2 separate regions of the Homo sapiens genome follow, and region 2 is linked to region 1. Evidence: promoter capture Hi-C in 16 types of primary human blood cells and fetal thymus (Javierre and others, 2016). All regions are on one chromosome and are shown on one strand. Each heading gives the region's core, a stretch centred on a gene start or on the middle of the fragment in contact. The rest is flanking DNA. Distances are from core to core; before and after follow the strand shown. Region 1 holds the start of CNTNAP2 (contactin associated protein 2). Region 2 overlaps CNTNAP2 (contactin associated protein 2).

Region 1 (3,757 bases), core at 873-3,372:
GTTCTGAAAAGTTACGCTTTCTGACAGTTTTTTTTTTTCCTATGACTTGTTTCTTTGAGCTCTTAGAAATGGCTGATGGCAGTTCTTTACTGGAGTGTTTTGGCAAGTGGTCATTGACTTTTGACAGTCTGTGATAATTCAAACAGCAAAGGGACATTTTATAATCCATAAGAATGCATTTGCTGTATTATTTTACAGGAGGAGTATTTTATAGAATGAGGAGGCAGTTCACCTCCCATTAGTCATCTGTGTGTTTCTTCATTTTCCATATTGTACCCAATCTGCAGTTCTTACTAGGACAAAGCATCCTTTTAAATTAACAAGAAACAAAGATCAAATAAAAAGCGCTGAATCAGACCCATTAACACCATATTAATTATGCAGTGAATACACAGTACTATTTACAGTGGACCTTTCTAAGACCAAACAATGATGTTAAAAACTCAGTTTATTCCAGGATTAGGCAAGCCTCCATAAATTTTCTATTTATCTTTAAATGCAAATGCTTATTCATTGCATAACATCGAAAGACATGGTTACTCCTACTTAGTCCTCCACAAACATCATTAGATATTTAGATGACCAATAATTTTTAATTGTGTCAATAAAGTCAGTGGAATGCTTGGCTCTGCAGAGACATAAGAATTCAAATACTTTAAGTAGACTAGATGGAAGAAAAACATATGGAGGGTAGAGTGTGAAGAGCTGTGAGCTGGGGAGAAGAGCTTGATAATTATTATTAAAATTATCTAAATGTGAAAAAATCTAGGTCTCTCTAAACATTCTTAATTCTTAGTGCTTGCAATGCCTCAGGTACCTTGAAATAGTTACCCATATGCCTGCTTATGTATTTCCGTTTTGTGTTTGTGTTTGTATGCGTGTTTGCCTAAGTGTAGTTTCTCCTGGCAGCAGCGTGTGTTTGGTGTACGTGTGCATATGTATGAGTACGAATTAATTACATATCGAAAACATGTGCATTAACGGCATCTGCAGTCCTCCCTCCCTGCTCCAGTCAGTCGGGATGTTTAGCACCGTCACTTGGTGTTAGGACCACTCGGAAGACCTGCCTGTCGGACGCCTGACTGTGGTTCCCGGGGGGCCGGAGCTCCAGGAGCCTGTACCATCTTTATCTGAAGGGGAGGAGAGAAGGAAAGGAGAAGGCATCCGAGCGAGGGTGTTCTCCTTCCTGCAGCCGGGTAGGGGGCAGCCAGGTTTGGAGCAGGGTTCTAGGATTACACGGCAAATCCCCAACTTCAGCACCGCGGACAGCATCACCTCCCGCCCAGGGAGAGGCGCGCGCCTCCTTGCTCCGCCCCCGCCCCAGCTGATGGACCCCGGCCGGTCGGCTCAGTCTCCCTTTTGCTTTCAAACGAGGCCAGGGCAGGGCAGAAGGGTTTTGACAGCCAGAGGGGTACGGTAAGGAGGAGGAAGAGGAGGAGGAGGCGGAGGAGGAGGAGGAGCCGAGGAGGGAACCGAGAAGGGAAGAGAAGGGAGGGCTTCCCTCCGCCTCGCTCGCCGCCCGGGCTCACAGGAGCTGGCGGCGGCGGCGGCGGCGGCGGCGTCTCCTGCTCTCCGCGGCTGTTGCTGCTGCTCGCGCTCCGCCGCCCGGGAGATGCTTCCTCGCGCGGCGCAGCGCTGAGGCCGTGCGTGCGCCCCGGCTGCGCTGCGCGCTCCCCACATACACAAGCTCTCCATGTGAGCTGACAGGCGAGTGGAAACCCCTCGAGTCACGCTGCCCGGCGGCGGAGGGAGCGCTCGCCCGCAGTGGCAACAGCTGCACCACCGTCCCCGTCGCTCTGCCTTCCTCTTCTGCAGCCTCTGCTCTTCTGATTACCTCCCTCCCCCGTCCTTTGGTGATTTTTTTTTTTCAAGAAGGAGAGGGCGGGGTAGGTGTCCGTTCCCTCCCCTCTTCCCCCTCCTTTGCCTTCTTGGTTTGAATTTCCTCCCCCGGCGTTGCACTGGCACACAGTGCAAGAGGCAATACCCGCACGGAGGGAGAACGAAGGCTGAGACTCCCCTGCCGCTCCAAGCCCGGAAGAACTGGAGCCTGGAGGGGGGTGAGGGGAGAAGAGGAAGCGGGAGGGGCTTGGCTTCCTCGCGTATTTGAGGACAGCCCATCTCCCTTCAAGAACCCTACGGAGAGTCGGACTGCATCTCCGCAGCGAGCTCTTGGAGCGCCGCCGGCCGGGAGGCGAAGGATGCAGGCGGCTCCGCGCGCCGGCTGCGGGGCAGCGCTCCTGCTGTGGATTGTCAGCAGCTGCCTCTGCAGAGCCTGGACGGCTCCCTCCACGTCCCGTAAGTAGCCGTCTCCTCGCTCTGCTCTGGAGCAGTTTCAGTGCGGCATTGATGTTTGGCACCAGGGTATCAACTCCGAAGTGCATCGCAGTGCTGGCACCCTGATGTGTTTGTGTCTCCGCTGTCACACACTTGCAGCCACTGCAGTAGACAAACTCGAAACCCAGCGTTTCTGTTTTGGAAGAGACAGGGTTGTGACGCTGGTGATGTTTCTGGAAAGTTGTTCCTGGTCTTGGTGATCGGTTGGCAAGAGCTTGGCTAGAGAGACTGATGTAGATGGCAGCTTCTTAGGAGTTGTTTGTGCAGGGAGAGTTAACTGCATTTGGCTTAGGTAGGTCAGTGAATGAAAAGTGAAGACCATGGCAAAACCAAGTTTCTTATTTTTATTTATGGTTATAACTTAATGAGCACGGGGTTGAGGTTAACAAGAGGAGCATGTTTTAAACAGTTTGGGCACCTATAGGGTCTCTTTAACCTCTCCCGTTCCCTTAAAAAGTTAATGCCCATTTAGTACTTGCTTATTAAAATGGAAGGCAGCGAAATTGTAACTGAAATTGCTTTAATTCTTTGATACTTTGATATCATGGATATGACTGATGCAGTACGGTACTTGGGACACTCAGTGCAAAGCGTCGTTAATGTAGTAATAAACAGATTCTTAATAGGGTTTTCAGGAAAATAATTATATTCAATATGTATATCTCTGCATTTTAATCAACTGTGTGTGTGTGTTTGTGTGTGTGTGTGTTTAAGACTGCCCCTGTTTTCATGAGGTTTAGAAAGAAATGGAAGATTCTGGCCCATTTTCTGCATTCCTTTAGAAGTGCATACTGTGCATGTAGAGAGGAAATGCATGATTGTTCCTTTGGTTCAGAAAGAGTTAAACACTAGAAAGACTGCCTATAGGAATCTTAGGATAATATTCATAAGCGCATACTAGTTTCTGAGAATGAGTAAGTTGATAAAGAATTATCGTGGAGATTTCAGAGTTTAAAAGGAAGATTTTTTTGTCCATTTAGGAAAAGAAAAGTTTAATATTTTCCAGAATTCGTCATATGCGAAGTAGTCTTTGTTTCTAAGATTTTGGGATGTATTAATGCATCTTTGTTAATAATGATCTTATTGTAGTGGTAAATATCAACAGGAATAGCATTGAAAAAGGACATTATAAGTTGTAATAAGGAATCTACTATATAATATCCGGTTATGAGCCAGTATTACTGTTTTGACATATCTTCCTAAGTACAGTATTAGCTTTTCTTTTCCCACAATGTGTAAAGATAAGGAGATAAACTAACTGGCAATCTAAGTTTGTAATGAACTTGAAAACATTGTATAGCATTTTTTATAACACAAGTTAAATCACAAAGAGTTAAATATTGTTAATATTTATGTCAATTTTATAAATTTAAACAAATTTTGGGGATATAATGCTTGCTGTTGATATTTACACAAATATGTA
Region 2 (3,757 bases), core at 625-3,124, 2.0 Mb after region 1:
TGATTCTCCTGCCTCAGCCTCCCGAGTAGCTGGGATTACAGGCACCCTCTATCATGCCCAGCTAATTTTTTGTATTTCTAGTAGAGATGGGGTTTCACTATGTTGGCCAGGCTGGTCTCAAACTCCTGACCTCATAAGCCACCCGCCTCGGCCTCCCAAAGTGCTGGGATTACAGGCATGAGCCATCGTGCTCAGCCTCAATCACATACTTCTAAGCTGATGTGATTGTTTCTGTTTTTGTGGAGTTACAACCAGTTGCAAATTTAGAGAGACCACATTCCCCATAAGACTGCATATGCTTCTGACACCAATTGCAAGTTCAGAAGTTCCCCAAACCACCCCCAGGTTTGATAGTTCTGTAGAAGGACTCACAGAATTCACTGAATTCTGCTGCCGAAGGCTGCTATACTCATGCTGCATTATGGGTGAAGAATGCACGTGAAAATCAGACAGGGGTAGAAGCACAGATGGCAGAGTCCAGGAACAGTACCAGATGCTGAGTTTACAGTCAACCTCTCTATATAGATTCAGGAGCACATTTCTTTCCTGGAACGGGTGTGTAACAATTTGCATGGGGTATTGCCAATGAGGGAAGCTTCCTGAGCCTCCATGTTCAGAGTCTTTACTGAGACTCCGTTATATAGGAATGATTGATTGCCCACATGGCTGACCTCAGTTTCCAGCCCCTCAGAAGGCTGGAGAATATAAGCCAAAGCCCCACACCCTTCATCACATTGTTGGTCAATCTGGCATGGTAAGGCCCCATCTTTTTTCTTTTTCTTTTTTTTTTTTTTTTTGAGACAGAGTTTCGCTCTTGTTGCCCAGGCTGGAGTGTGCAATGGCACCATCTCGGCTCACCACAACCTCCACCTCCCAGGTTCATGTGATTCTCTTGCCTCAGCCTCCCAAGTAGCCAGATTACAGGCATCTGCCACCACGCCCAGCTAATTTTGTATTTTTAATAGGGATGGCATTTCTCCATGTTGGTCAGGCTGGTCTCGAACTCCTGACCTCAGGTGATCCACCCGCCTCAGCATCCCAAAGTGCTGGGATTACAGGCATGAGCCACCACACCCAGCCCAGGCCCCATCTTAAATGCCATCTGGTGTGGCCCTACCCCTAAAACACAATGTTAGACTATCTGGAATAACCCAAGGCTCCCAGGCAAATGAAGACATGCTTACCAGGCAGGACATCCCAAGGGCTTAGATATTACCTTCCCAAAGCCAAAGGCAAGGGCCAGACCTCTTGAGGGCAAGGCTAAATTCTCTATTACACAGTTCTGAAAATCTCTCTGTTGAGGACAAGAAAGCAAAGATTCCTAGGACTTACTACTAGAAGGAAACCTGAAACTCCTAATGTTTCTTAAAGTAAGATTCCAGGACCACTTGCGTCAGAATCACCTGGCATTAACAAAATGCAGACTCCAAAGCCCCACCCCAAACCTACTGAATCAGATTCTCTGTAACAGAAGCATTGGAATATGCATTTTAAGCATTTTCCTTTAGCAGTTTTTTATGTAGGCCAAAACTTGAGAATTGTAATTAAGATCCAAGGTCCCTGTTCCTACAAGTAGAGTGAAACTAGCATGCAATAAAGCAAAGGGAGAAAATTCTGCTTCTTATTCCACTGGTGAGTTTATCTTGGGCAAGCCATTAGTCCTCAAACATCATATGTTTGAAAATAACGTTTAGCTACATTTGTTTTAAACAGACATAACTAATGTAGCATGCTCTTAGACTGAGAAAATATTCATTGAGTTACTTTGTGCTCTTGGGAAAGATGCTTGTGGAATACAAGATGGAACTCCATCTAGTTCGGCTGGCCTTGGGAAAATGAGTGGATTTCTCTTTTCAGAGTATCCATGTGATCACTGTTGCCTTCCTAGGCAGGAGTAGTTTCTATTCATCCTTTCATTCATTCACAAATTGGTATCTACTGTGTGGCAGGCAATGTTCTCAGTGCTGAGGAGAGAACAATGAACAAAACAGAAAATGCCTCTGCCTTCCTGAGGCCAGGACCACATATATATTATTCCAGATAGTGATACATGCTATGCAGACTTTTTAAAAATCAGGATTAAAGGGGAAAGGACAGCTGAGAGCGAAGTTTGTTATTTAACATAGAATGTTTAGGGATGGAGTTTCTAATATGATGACTTGTGAGCAGAGAAGTAAACGCTCAGCCACAGAGTTATTTGGGTAAAGTGAACAGCAAGTTCTAAGGCCCTGGGGCAGGAGCAGTTTCAAATGTTGTGAAGGAGAAAGTCCTATGTGGTGGAATTAGAGGAAGACTAAGAGGAGTGGAAATAGATATGGGGAGTACAGACATCTCTTTCAAGGAATTTGGAAACAAAAGGGTGCATAGAAATGAAATGGTAACTTTTGGGATAGATAAGGTCAAAAGAAAGGTTTTATAGTGCCAGTGGTTGTTAAGAGTAGAGATATGTCTCTGTGTGTGTGTGTGTGTGTGTGTGTGTGTGTGTGTGTGTGTTTGTATAACAACCCAGTTGTAGAGGGAGGGGAGAATTGTCAGAGTGGTGTCCTTGAGCTGGTAGGAAGGATGGCATCCCGTGTATAGGTGCAGCAGTTGGCCTTGAATTAGGAACATAGATGAACTCTTTACTTCTTTCTCCTTATCTCTCTGATTCCCATGGCGACCTTATTTTCAGCCTTCCTGCCTCTTCTCATGACCCTTTCGTGTTAAATAAATCCTTTTATCTTCTGATGTACAGTTAGTACTTCATTCAGAAAAAAAATACAGGAAACAAAAAAAGATATTGATAACACTGTTCACCATAGAGTGAGGCTGAAATATCTGTTCTACCAATTACCAGTTTTGTTGTATGACTCAAATGAGATTTATTGTACAGAAGATCCCCCAGGAAGCTGCCACCCCTCGAACCTTATTTTAGAATGGAAAAAACGTATCATTACCAAAACTAAACAGTGTTAGCTGGTCTGCCCATCATGCTCATGCTATATAACTTTCCTTCTCTTTTCTCTTATCCTGTTCTGTACTGAATGGCCAAATTTTTTCTGCTACTTCAACTGAAACTGTGGTCTAATATCTAAATGCTCCCTCACCTGCTGAGAAAACTTAGAGCCAAAAACACCTGGTATTGGTCAGTTGTTAAATTTATCGCTCAATATACTAAGCTTGGAGTGATTTGTTGAGTTAGAATGAGAGCAAATAGTGCCACCTGCTGGAATTACACTTGGAAGGGGAAGCGTGAACATGCCAAGAGCTCTCCATGGTTTTGTCCCAATCATTACTTTAAGCCTTTCAGATGAAGTCATGAGCCTGCTTTATTAGAAAGTAATTTCTTCCACCTATATTCTTTTCTGATGGCAATATGCCACCTTATGTATTTCTCTTTTAGTATTTCTCTTTTCTCCCTGTAATGATTCAGTATCTAAAATTACCATTAAGACCAGCTGTATTTCATTTTATTTCTCTTAGAATCTCTTGAAAAATTATAGAATGTTGCCATTTGAAAGAACCTTAGAGGTTCTCCGTAGTTTCAAACACATTTTGGACACAGGAACTTTTGGGAAACTATGGATATAATCCTCACTTTGGACCTCAAACTGAGGCCTGAAGCGTGAAAAGTGAAAAGACCAAACAGCTGAGGCTCTATATCAGTTAAGATGCTTTCAGTTACAATAAAAATGGCTTGAGCAATAACATAACAGCATATCTCACATAAGAAATCCTAAGGTAGATGGCTCTGGGATTAATTTAAAAGTTGAGTAGA

Evidence for each region. Contacts are between HindIII fragments. The CHiCAGO score rates a contact against its expected background, and 5 or more counts as called.
Region 2: a fragment that was not itself captured here is called in contact with the fragment with the promoter of CNTNAP2 in region 1 in 1 of 17 cell types (megakaryocytes); the score reaches 6.2 in megakaryocytes.

The regions. Positions count from the first base shown.
Region 1 is chr7:146,114,679-146,118,435 of GRCh38, forward strand. CNTNAP2 (contactin associated protein 2) reads left to right here and starts at 2,123. Exons shown (of 24, transcript NM_014141.6): 1 at 2,123-2,295. The coding sequence starts at 2,199. The HindIII fragment of the contact is 7,089 bases long and covers 1-3,757 here.
Region 2 is chr7:148,139,642-148,143,398 of GRCh38, forward strand. The region is part of intron 16 of CNTNAP2 (contactin associated protein 2); the gene reads left to right. Among named protein-coding and RNA genes, the nearest start is that of C7orf33, 450 kb to the right of the region's middle. The HindIII fragment of the contact is 2,563 bases long and covers 594-3,156 here.